Linked DNA regions of Homo sapiens: region 2 is linked to region 1. Evidence: promoter capture Hi-C in human tissues and cell types (Jung and others, 2019). All regions are on one chromosome and are shown on one strand. Each heading gives the region's core, a stretch centred on a gene start or on the middle of the fragment in contact. The rest is flanking DNA. Distances are from core to core; before and after follow the strand shown. Region 1 holds the start of CLN5 (CLN5 lysosomal BMP synthase). Region 2 overlaps SLAIN1 (SLAIN motif family member 1).

Region 1 (4,388 bases), core at 832-3,331:
GGCTAAACTTAAAGGATGTTAAGTAGCAGATCTGACAGGACTGAATTTGCTATAAAGTAAACCTTATTTCACGAATTAAAAGAGGGTATGGAGAGAGGCCAAATAAAACATGAGAGATCAGTTAGAAGGTGACCTCAACAATGCAGGCAAGAAAAGAAGACCGGAGAAGGCCACAGCAATAGGACTCGAGGGGCACTGCAGCTGAATTCAGCTCAACAGACACACTGGTCACCTATAATCTGGCACTGGGAAAGAAAGAAGTGGTGGCGACAACAGCTTCTATCTAAGAATCCTAGATCCCCAAGGTTGTAGCCAGATCTAACAAATCTTAACAAATCAACAAAAATTTCTATTTTAACTTAAGAAGTTAAAATCTTTATGCTAATCGAAACTATTAACGACGCTCCCAAAAGTTTCTGCTACTTGGGTACAGTGTTTTATAGGCACTTACCTGGTTTAAACAAATACATAATCACATGGAGATTTCACTGACACAGCAAAATCTATTTTAGTTCAAAGGTAATTTAAGTGTGAACTTAATAAACTTAAATATTATATTCAATTGAGGGAATTAGATGGGAGCACGTACTTAATATCTGAGACTTAAAAAAAAAATCCACTAAAAAGCCATAGTCAACACCTTGCCCTAATGTTAAATCAAATCGTTTGGATTTACAATTCTTGTTCTATTGAGTAATTTTGACTTCTTACAAACATTTTATTATTAACATTTTCCAGAAAACTAGCTTCAACCACAAACTTCTCTTTCCACGTAGTATATCACACAAAACAAAAAAGTGTTGTAAACATTTCAGTGAGCAGAATACACTATCTAGGTTTGACAACAGCTGGCATTTTACTAGATTTAATCCTTCCAGCAAACCTATGAGGTACGTGCTACCACTATTCCTATTTTTTGACTCAGGGCATGTGGGCACAGAGATTCTGAGTAACTTTCCCAAGATCCCTGGTGATGACAGAGCCAGATTTGACCCGCAGCAGGCAGAACTCCTTCCCACTCATACTGTCATACAAAATAGCTGTTTTTTTCAGGTTTGTTGTGTGCAGTTTTAGCTGTTGATTACTTATGCTAGTAAGTTAAAATTATGTCCAATGATGCTTTTGGTTTAAAGAAAAATAGCTGTTTTCAAAAACTGCTGGTCTTTCTCCTGCCTGATGTTGACACCATGTTTTCTTTCTCTGTGTTTAGCTATCTCTGACCGCCGGAGGCTGTGTCTTCTCTGTCAAAGGCTGGAATCGACCTCCCAGGTGTGCGGGCTCTGTCCCCGACTTAGGACCGGCGTCCTACCTCCAGGCTGAAGACTGGACAAAAGCGGTGACAATCTTCCCGGTCTAACCAGGACTGCAGGAGACGGGGATTCCCGGGATGCGCGACTTTTGAGGGCAAAACTGGGAAGTCCCAATAAGGACTTCGGATCAGGTTCTGATCAGGTTCAAACCAGAGCGAGTTGGTCGCCCAGTAAATTGTACCAAATGTTCCGCGGTAATAACTAACGACAGTGCATGATATAAATAAATGCGATAGACAGTGTTTTTAAACTACTCAAGAAATCAGCTACTTGTACCCAGAAGTCCCTCCATTAAATAACATTACTCTCCTTTTCTTCTTCCACGATTCAGGACTGTCCTGAGTCTGCCGCAAGTGACCAGAGGGGACGAAAGGTCCCAGGGCTGCACGTAACGAGCGGCTGCGACTCCCCAGTCCTCAACTTTGCTCTCAAGTGCGCTCCGAGCGTCACCCGGCGCTGTCCCCGCACCATCTCGTGACCCGACACAAACCACGGTGAGCAGGGGTCCCCGCCCCAGCACCCCATCCCCCATCGTCAACGCCGACCCCAACCCCGACAGTGCGCGCGCCGCCGCACTCACTTGTAGGGCACCGGCCAGTGGCGCCGGGAGGGGATGCCCGAGACCCGGGACCAGCCCGGAACCACCGCGAGCCAAAGCAGCGCCAGGGCCCAGCACCAGGAAGCGCGTCCCCGAGCCGCGCCCGCGCCCCGCCGCATCTCGGCGCCCTGTGCCGTGTCTACCTCCTGCGCCATCAGGCTGCACCCAGTACTTCCGGAGCCTCTCGAGGCCTGCGACGCCGGTGGGAGGAGCATGCGCGGAGCCGCCAGTCCGGGACGCGGGGCGCCTTGCCCCTGCGCGTCAGCTCCAGAGCTTGGCCCCAAGCGCAGGTTCCGGCGCATGACACCTCCCCGCGCCCGGCCCGCGGCGGCTTCCACACTTTGCAGTCCAGGAAGGTGCTTTGGTCTGGCTCCCAGGAGAATTCGATCCAGACCTGGGGCGTCATCTTTTATGAATTGACCTGTCCTTGCCCAAAAGCCACCACCAAAACCAAAAATCTGTCACCGGGGCTCCTCCCAACACCGAACTTTTACCCCATCCCACAGGGCCCACGCTAGGTGTCAACAAACGTTGAGTGAACGAGAATGTGTATTTGGAGCTGAGGGTGCAGGGCTGGGGGTGCAGTGAGGAAGAAGGGACAATAGTGCGGAAATGGCTCGTCGTCACCCGACCTGGGCCAGTCATAACAGTGGTTAACACTGACAATATGTGGTCCCTGCCACTCCCCAAGTGCTTAGTGGGGAAATGACTCGTCCTCACTCGACCTGGGCCAGTGATAACAGTGGTTAACACCGACAATATGTGGTCCCTGCCACTACCCGAGTGCTGCCGAATCTACCCCCTCCCCTACCGCTCCCCTCACAGGCAGGTGTTCCTTGCTTGGATCTGTCACTTCACTGGAAAGAAGTTTCTGCATCACCTTCTCTTCTTTGACTCTTCAACTAGGTCAAGAAAACAATGGCATCAATTACCCGGCTTTTGAGGAGCCTCTTGTGGCATGCTTTGCTGTTAGGCACAAATACTGACTTAAGTCTATACGTAGTACATTCAGGGCCTTGCCATAGTCACTTGTTTTTACCAGACAGCAGTTTTGCAGGGCCTTAGACCGGGACTTTCCAATTCCTTCACTTCACCCACAACTCGTGTGAAGCATCATAATGTTTGTAAGCCTATGGGAATAAGCAAGGTGGCTTCGGTAGCCGGAGATGACCACCACAATCCATTGGAGGATATGTAGCTTGTGGGGGTGTCACTGACTTCCTTGGGCCCTCCAGGTCTCTTGATTACATATGGGACTCAGTACCCTGCCCCAAACACACACTCCTTTGCCCACTTGCTGCTCCAGGTTTGGGGGTTTTGCGGAGGTTCAGGCTGGGCTGCATTTTACCATACGTTTGTCTAAGCGTTTTGATAGCTACCTAGCTCTCCTCCGTATACTATGGCCAAATTCAAAATTACCAAGGCTAAACTGGCTTCTTCAAAGACCTGCCCAAGATAAGAGGGGGAAGCATTCTAGCCCTGAGAGCTGAAATGTAATGTCTGATTTGAAGGGCACCTGAAGGATTCCGTGGCCCCACACTTGAGCCTAGCTTAAAAAGCAATCAGCAGGAACAGCTTTAAAAAAAAAAAAAAACATTGATTAGAGCATTTACAAATCCTGGAACCATACACAGTATGATGTATGAGGGCCACAGTAGATGGCCTCAACAACCAGAGCCTCCGTGGCTGCCTGGAGAGCGGTGATGCAGGCAGCAGCTTCATGAGATATTTGCAGTTTAATCCAGTCATCTGCAAGCACAATCTGCCCATCAGATTGGACTTTCTTGGAGGCAAAGAGAAGCAACTGCAGTGGGGTGACTAAAGTCATGCCTTTAGCAGAGATGGCTCGAGTTCAAATCTTTTCACCAAATACAAAGAAGGGAGATAGGTACTTCATGTCTTGGCTACTAAAAGGACAATTAACAGTAGATGGTTCCAGGTTCCATCTACTGTTAGTAGAGGGCCACAGTAGAACCTCCCATTCAGTTCAGGACTTCCCAGAGCTACAAAAACAAATTCAGGTTGACCTTGTTCAGTGGTGGAGGCCTCTGGTCTTGCTTCTGCCATCTGTCTCTTCATTCTGTGTGCAGGGAGCTTTCATGGTAAGAAAGCACTTCCTAGTATTGGTTTTTATTTTTTATTTTTTTGGAGACGGAGTCTCCTTCTGTCACCCAGCCTGGAGTGCAGTGATGTGATTTCGGCTCACTGCAACCTCCGCCTCCCGGGTTCAAGCAATTCTCCTGCCTCAGCCTCCCTAGTGGCTGGGTACAAGTGTGTGCCAGTTGTAATTTTTTTTTTTTTTTTTGGTAGAGACGAGGTTTCACCATGTTGGCCAGGCTGGTCTCGAACTCCTGACCTCAAGTAATCCACCTGCCTCGGCCTCCAAAAGTGCTGGGATTACAGGCTGTAGTCACCATGCCTGGCCCTAGTATTGGTCTTAACTCAGCCTCCTGGTAGCTCCCATTCTTCTGGTCTGGTTT
Region 2 (3,990 bases), core at 963-3,462, 720 kb before region 1:
TGATCGCCATTCTAACTGGTGTGAGATGCTATCTCATTGTGGTTTTGATTTACATTTCTCTAATGACCAGTGATGATGAGCTTTTTTTCATGTTTGCTGGCCGCATAAATGTCTTCTGTTGAGAAGTGTCTGTTCATATCCTTCGCCCACTTTTTGATGGGGTTGTTTTTTTCTTGTAAATTTGTTTAAGTTCCTTGTGGATTCTGGATATTAGCGCTTTGTCAGGTGGATAGATTGCAAAAATTTTCTCCCATTCAGTAGGCTGCATAAGCTCTTTAGTTTAATTAGATCCCATTTGTCAATTTTGGCTTTTGTTGCCATTGCTCTTGGTGTTTTACTCATGAAGTCTTTGCCCATGCCCATGTCCTGAATGGTATTGCCCAGGTTTTCTTCTAGGGTTTTTACGGTTTTAGGTCTTACGTTTAAATCTTTAATCTATCTTGAGTTAATTTTTGCATAAGGTGTAAGGAAGGGGTCTGGTTTCAGTTTTCTGCATATGGCTAGCCAGTTTTCCCAGCACCATTTATTAAATAGGGAATCCTTTCCCCATTACTTGTTTTGGTCAGGTTTGTCAAAGATCAGATGGTTGTAAATGTGTGGCATTATTTCTGAGGCCTCTGTTCTGTTCCATTGGTCTATATATCTGTTTTGGTACCAGTACCATGCTGTTTTGGTTACAGTAGCTTTGTAGTAGAGTTTGAAATCAGGTAGCATGATACCTCCAGCTTTGTTCTTTTTGCTTAGGATTGTCTTGGCTATATGGGCTCTTTTTTGGTTCCATATGAAATTTGAAATAGTTTTTTCTAATTATGTGAAGAAAGTCAATGGTAGCTTGATGGGGATGGCACTGAATCTATAAATTACTTTGGGCAGTATGGCCATTTTGACGATATTGATTCTTCCTATCCATGAGCATGGAATGTATTTCCATTTGTTTGTGTCCGCTCTGATTTCCTTGAGCACTGGTTTGTAGTACTTGAAAACGTCCTTCACATTTCTTGTGAGTTGTATTTCTAGATATTTTATTCTCTTTGTAGCAATTGTGAATGGGAGTTCACTCATGATTTGGCTGTTCATTATTAGTGTATAGAAATACTTGTGATTTTTTGCACATTGATTTTGTATCCTGAGACTTTGCTGAAGTTGCTTATCAGCTTAAGGTGATTTTGGGCTGAGATGATGGGGTTTTCTCAATATACAATCATGTCATCTGCAAACAGAGACAATTTGACTTCCTCTCTTCCTATTTGAATACCATTTCTTTCTTTCTCTTGTCTGATTGCCCTGGCCAGAACTTCCAATACTATGTTGAATAGGAGTGGTGAGAGAGGGCATCTTTGTCTTGTGCCAGTTTTCAAAAGGAATGCTTCCAGCTTTTGCCAATTCAGTATGATACTGGCTGTGGGTTTGTCATAAATAGCTCTTATTATTTTGAGATACATTCCATCAATACCTAGTTTATTGAGAGTTTTTAAGCATGAAAGGGTGATAAATTTTATCGATGCCTTTTTCTGCACCTATTAATTATGTGGTTTTGTGATTGGTTCTGTTTATGTGATGATTATGTTTATGATTTGCATATGTTGAACCAGCCCTGCATCCCGGGGATGAAGCCGACTTGACCGTGGTGGATAAGCTTTTTGATGTGCTGTTGGATTCGATTTGCCAGTATTTTACTGAGGATTTTCACATCGATGTTCATCAGGGATATTGGGCTGAAATTTTCTTTTTTATTTGTGTCTCTGCCAGGTTTTGGTATCAGGATGATGCTGGTCTCATAAAATGAGTTAGGGAGGAGCCCCTCTCTTTCTATTGTTTGGAATAGTTTCAGAAGGAATGGTACCAGCTCCTCTTTGCACCTCTGGTAGAATCTGGCTCTGAATCCATCTGATCCTGGGCTTTTTTTGGTTGATAGGTTATTAATTACTGCCTTAATTCCAGAATTTATTACTGGTCTATTCAGGGATTCGACTTCTTCCTGGTTTAGTCTGGGGAGGGTGTTTGTGTCCAGAAATTGATCCATTTCTTCTAGATTTCCTAGTTTATTTTCATAGAGGTATTTATAGTATTCTCAGATGGTAGTTTGTATTTCTGTGGGATCAGTGGTGATATCCCCTTTATCATTTTTTATTGTGTGTATTTGATTCTTCTCTCTTTTCTTCTTTAATAGTCTGGCTAGCGGTCTATCTATTTTGTTGGTCTTTTCAAAAAACCAGCTCCTGGATTCATTAACTTTTTAAAAGGGTTTTTCATGTCTCTATCTCCTTCAGTTCTGCTTAGTTATTTCTTGTTGTCTGCTAGCTTTTGAATTTGTTTGCTCTTGCTTCTCTAGTTCTGTTAATTGTGATATTAGGGTGTTGATCTGAGATCTTTCCTGCTTTCTCTGGTGGGCATTTAGTGCTATAAATTTCCCTCTGAACACTGCTTTAGCTGTGTCCCATAGATTCTGGGACATTGTGTCTTTGTTCTCATTGGTTTTAAAGAACTTATTTCTGCCTTAATTTCTTTATTTACCCAGTAGTCATTCAGGAGCAGGTTGTTCAGTTTCCATGTAATTGTGCGGTTTTCAGTCAGTTTCTTAATCCTGCGTTCTAATTTGATTGCACTGTGGTCTGAGAGACTGTTATGATTTCCATTCTTTTGCCTTTGCTGAGGAGTGTTTTACTTCCAATTATGTGGTCAATTTTAGAATAAGTGTGACATGGTGCTGAAAAGAATGTATATTCTGTTGATTTGGGGTGGAGAGTTCTGTAGATGTCTATTAGGCCCACTTGGTCCACAGCTGAGTTCAAGTCCTGAATATCCTTGCTAATTTTCTGTCTCATTGATCTAATATTGACAGTGGGGTGTTAGAGTCTCCCACTATTATTGTGTGGGAGTCTAAGTCTCCTTGTAGGTCTCTAAGAACTTGTTTTATGAATCTGGGTCCTCCTGTATTGGGTGGATATATATTTAGGATAGTTAGCTCTTCTTGTTGCACTGATCCCTTTACCATTATGTGATGCCCTTCTTTGTCTCTTTTGATCTTTGTTGGTTTAAAGTCTGTTTTATCAGAGACTAGGATTGCAACCCATGTTTTTTTGTTTTGTTTTTTTTTGTTTTCCATTTGCTTGGTAAATATTCCTCCATCCCTTTATTTTGAGCCTATATGTGCCTTTGCATGTGAGATGGGTCTCCTGAATACAGCACACCAATGGGTCTTGACTCTTTATACAATTTGCCAATCTGTGTCTTTTAATTGGGGTATTTATCCCATTTACGTTTAAGGTTAATATTGTTATGTGTGAATTTGATCCTGTCATTATGATGCCAGCTGGTTATTTTGCCCATTAGTTGATGTGGTTTCTTCATAGTATCACTGGTCTTTACAATTTGGTATGTTTTTGCAGTGGCTGGTACTGGTTTTTCCTTTCCATTGTTAGTTCTTCCAAGGCCAGATGCGGTGGCTCACACCTGTAATCCCAGCACTTTGGGAGGCTGAGCCTGGCAGATCATCTGAGGTCAGGAGTTCAAGACCAGCCTGACCAATGTGGCAAAACCCCGCCTCTACTAAAAATACAAAAAATTACCCAGGCCTGGTAGTGGGTGCCTGTAATCCCAACTACTCAGGAGGCAGAGGCAGAGGAATCACTTGAACCTGGGAGGCGGGGGTTGCAGTGAGCCGAGATCGCGCCATTGCACTCCGGCCTGGGTGACAGAGTGAGACTCTGTCTCAAAAACAACAACAACAACAACAATATATTTAGTGCTTCCTTCAGGAGCTCTTGTAAGGCAGGACTGGAGGTGACAAAATCTCTCAGCATTAGCTTGTCTGTAAAGGATTTTATTTTTCCTTCGCTTTTGAAGCTTCATTTGGCTGGATATGAAATTCTGGGTTGAAAATTCTTTTCTTTAAGAATGTTGAATATTGGCCCCCACTCTCTTCTGGCTTGTAGGGTTTCTACAGAGAGATCCGCTGTTAGTCTAATGGGCTTCCCTTTGTGGGTAATT

Evidence for each region. Contacts are between HindIII fragments. The study calls those that stand out against the background at their distance.
Region 2: a contact is called between a fragment that was not itself captured here and the fragment with the promoter of CLN5 in region 1, in 1 of the 25 tissues and cell types used here (dorsolateral prefrontal cortex).

Annotation. Positions count from the first base shown.
Region 1 is chr13:76,989,774-76,994,161 of GRCh38, reverse strand. It overlaps CLN5 (CLN5 lysosomal BMP synthase), which reads right to left and starts at 2,081. Exons shown (of 4, transcript NM_006493.4): 1 at 1,891-2,081. The coding sequence starts at 2,063. RefSeq lists an enhancer at 577-1,776 and silencers at 1,798-2,037, 2,498-2,567, 2,658-2,747. The HindIII fragment of the contact is 12,191 bases long and covers 1-4,388 here.
Region 2 is chr13:77,709,513-77,713,502 of GRCh38, reverse strand. All of the region lies in intron 1 of SLAIN1 (SLAIN motif family member 1), which reads right to left. Among named protein-coding and RNA genes, the nearest start is that of MIR3665, 13 kb to the right of the region's middle. The HindIII fragment of the contact is 5,702 bases long and covers 1-3,990 here.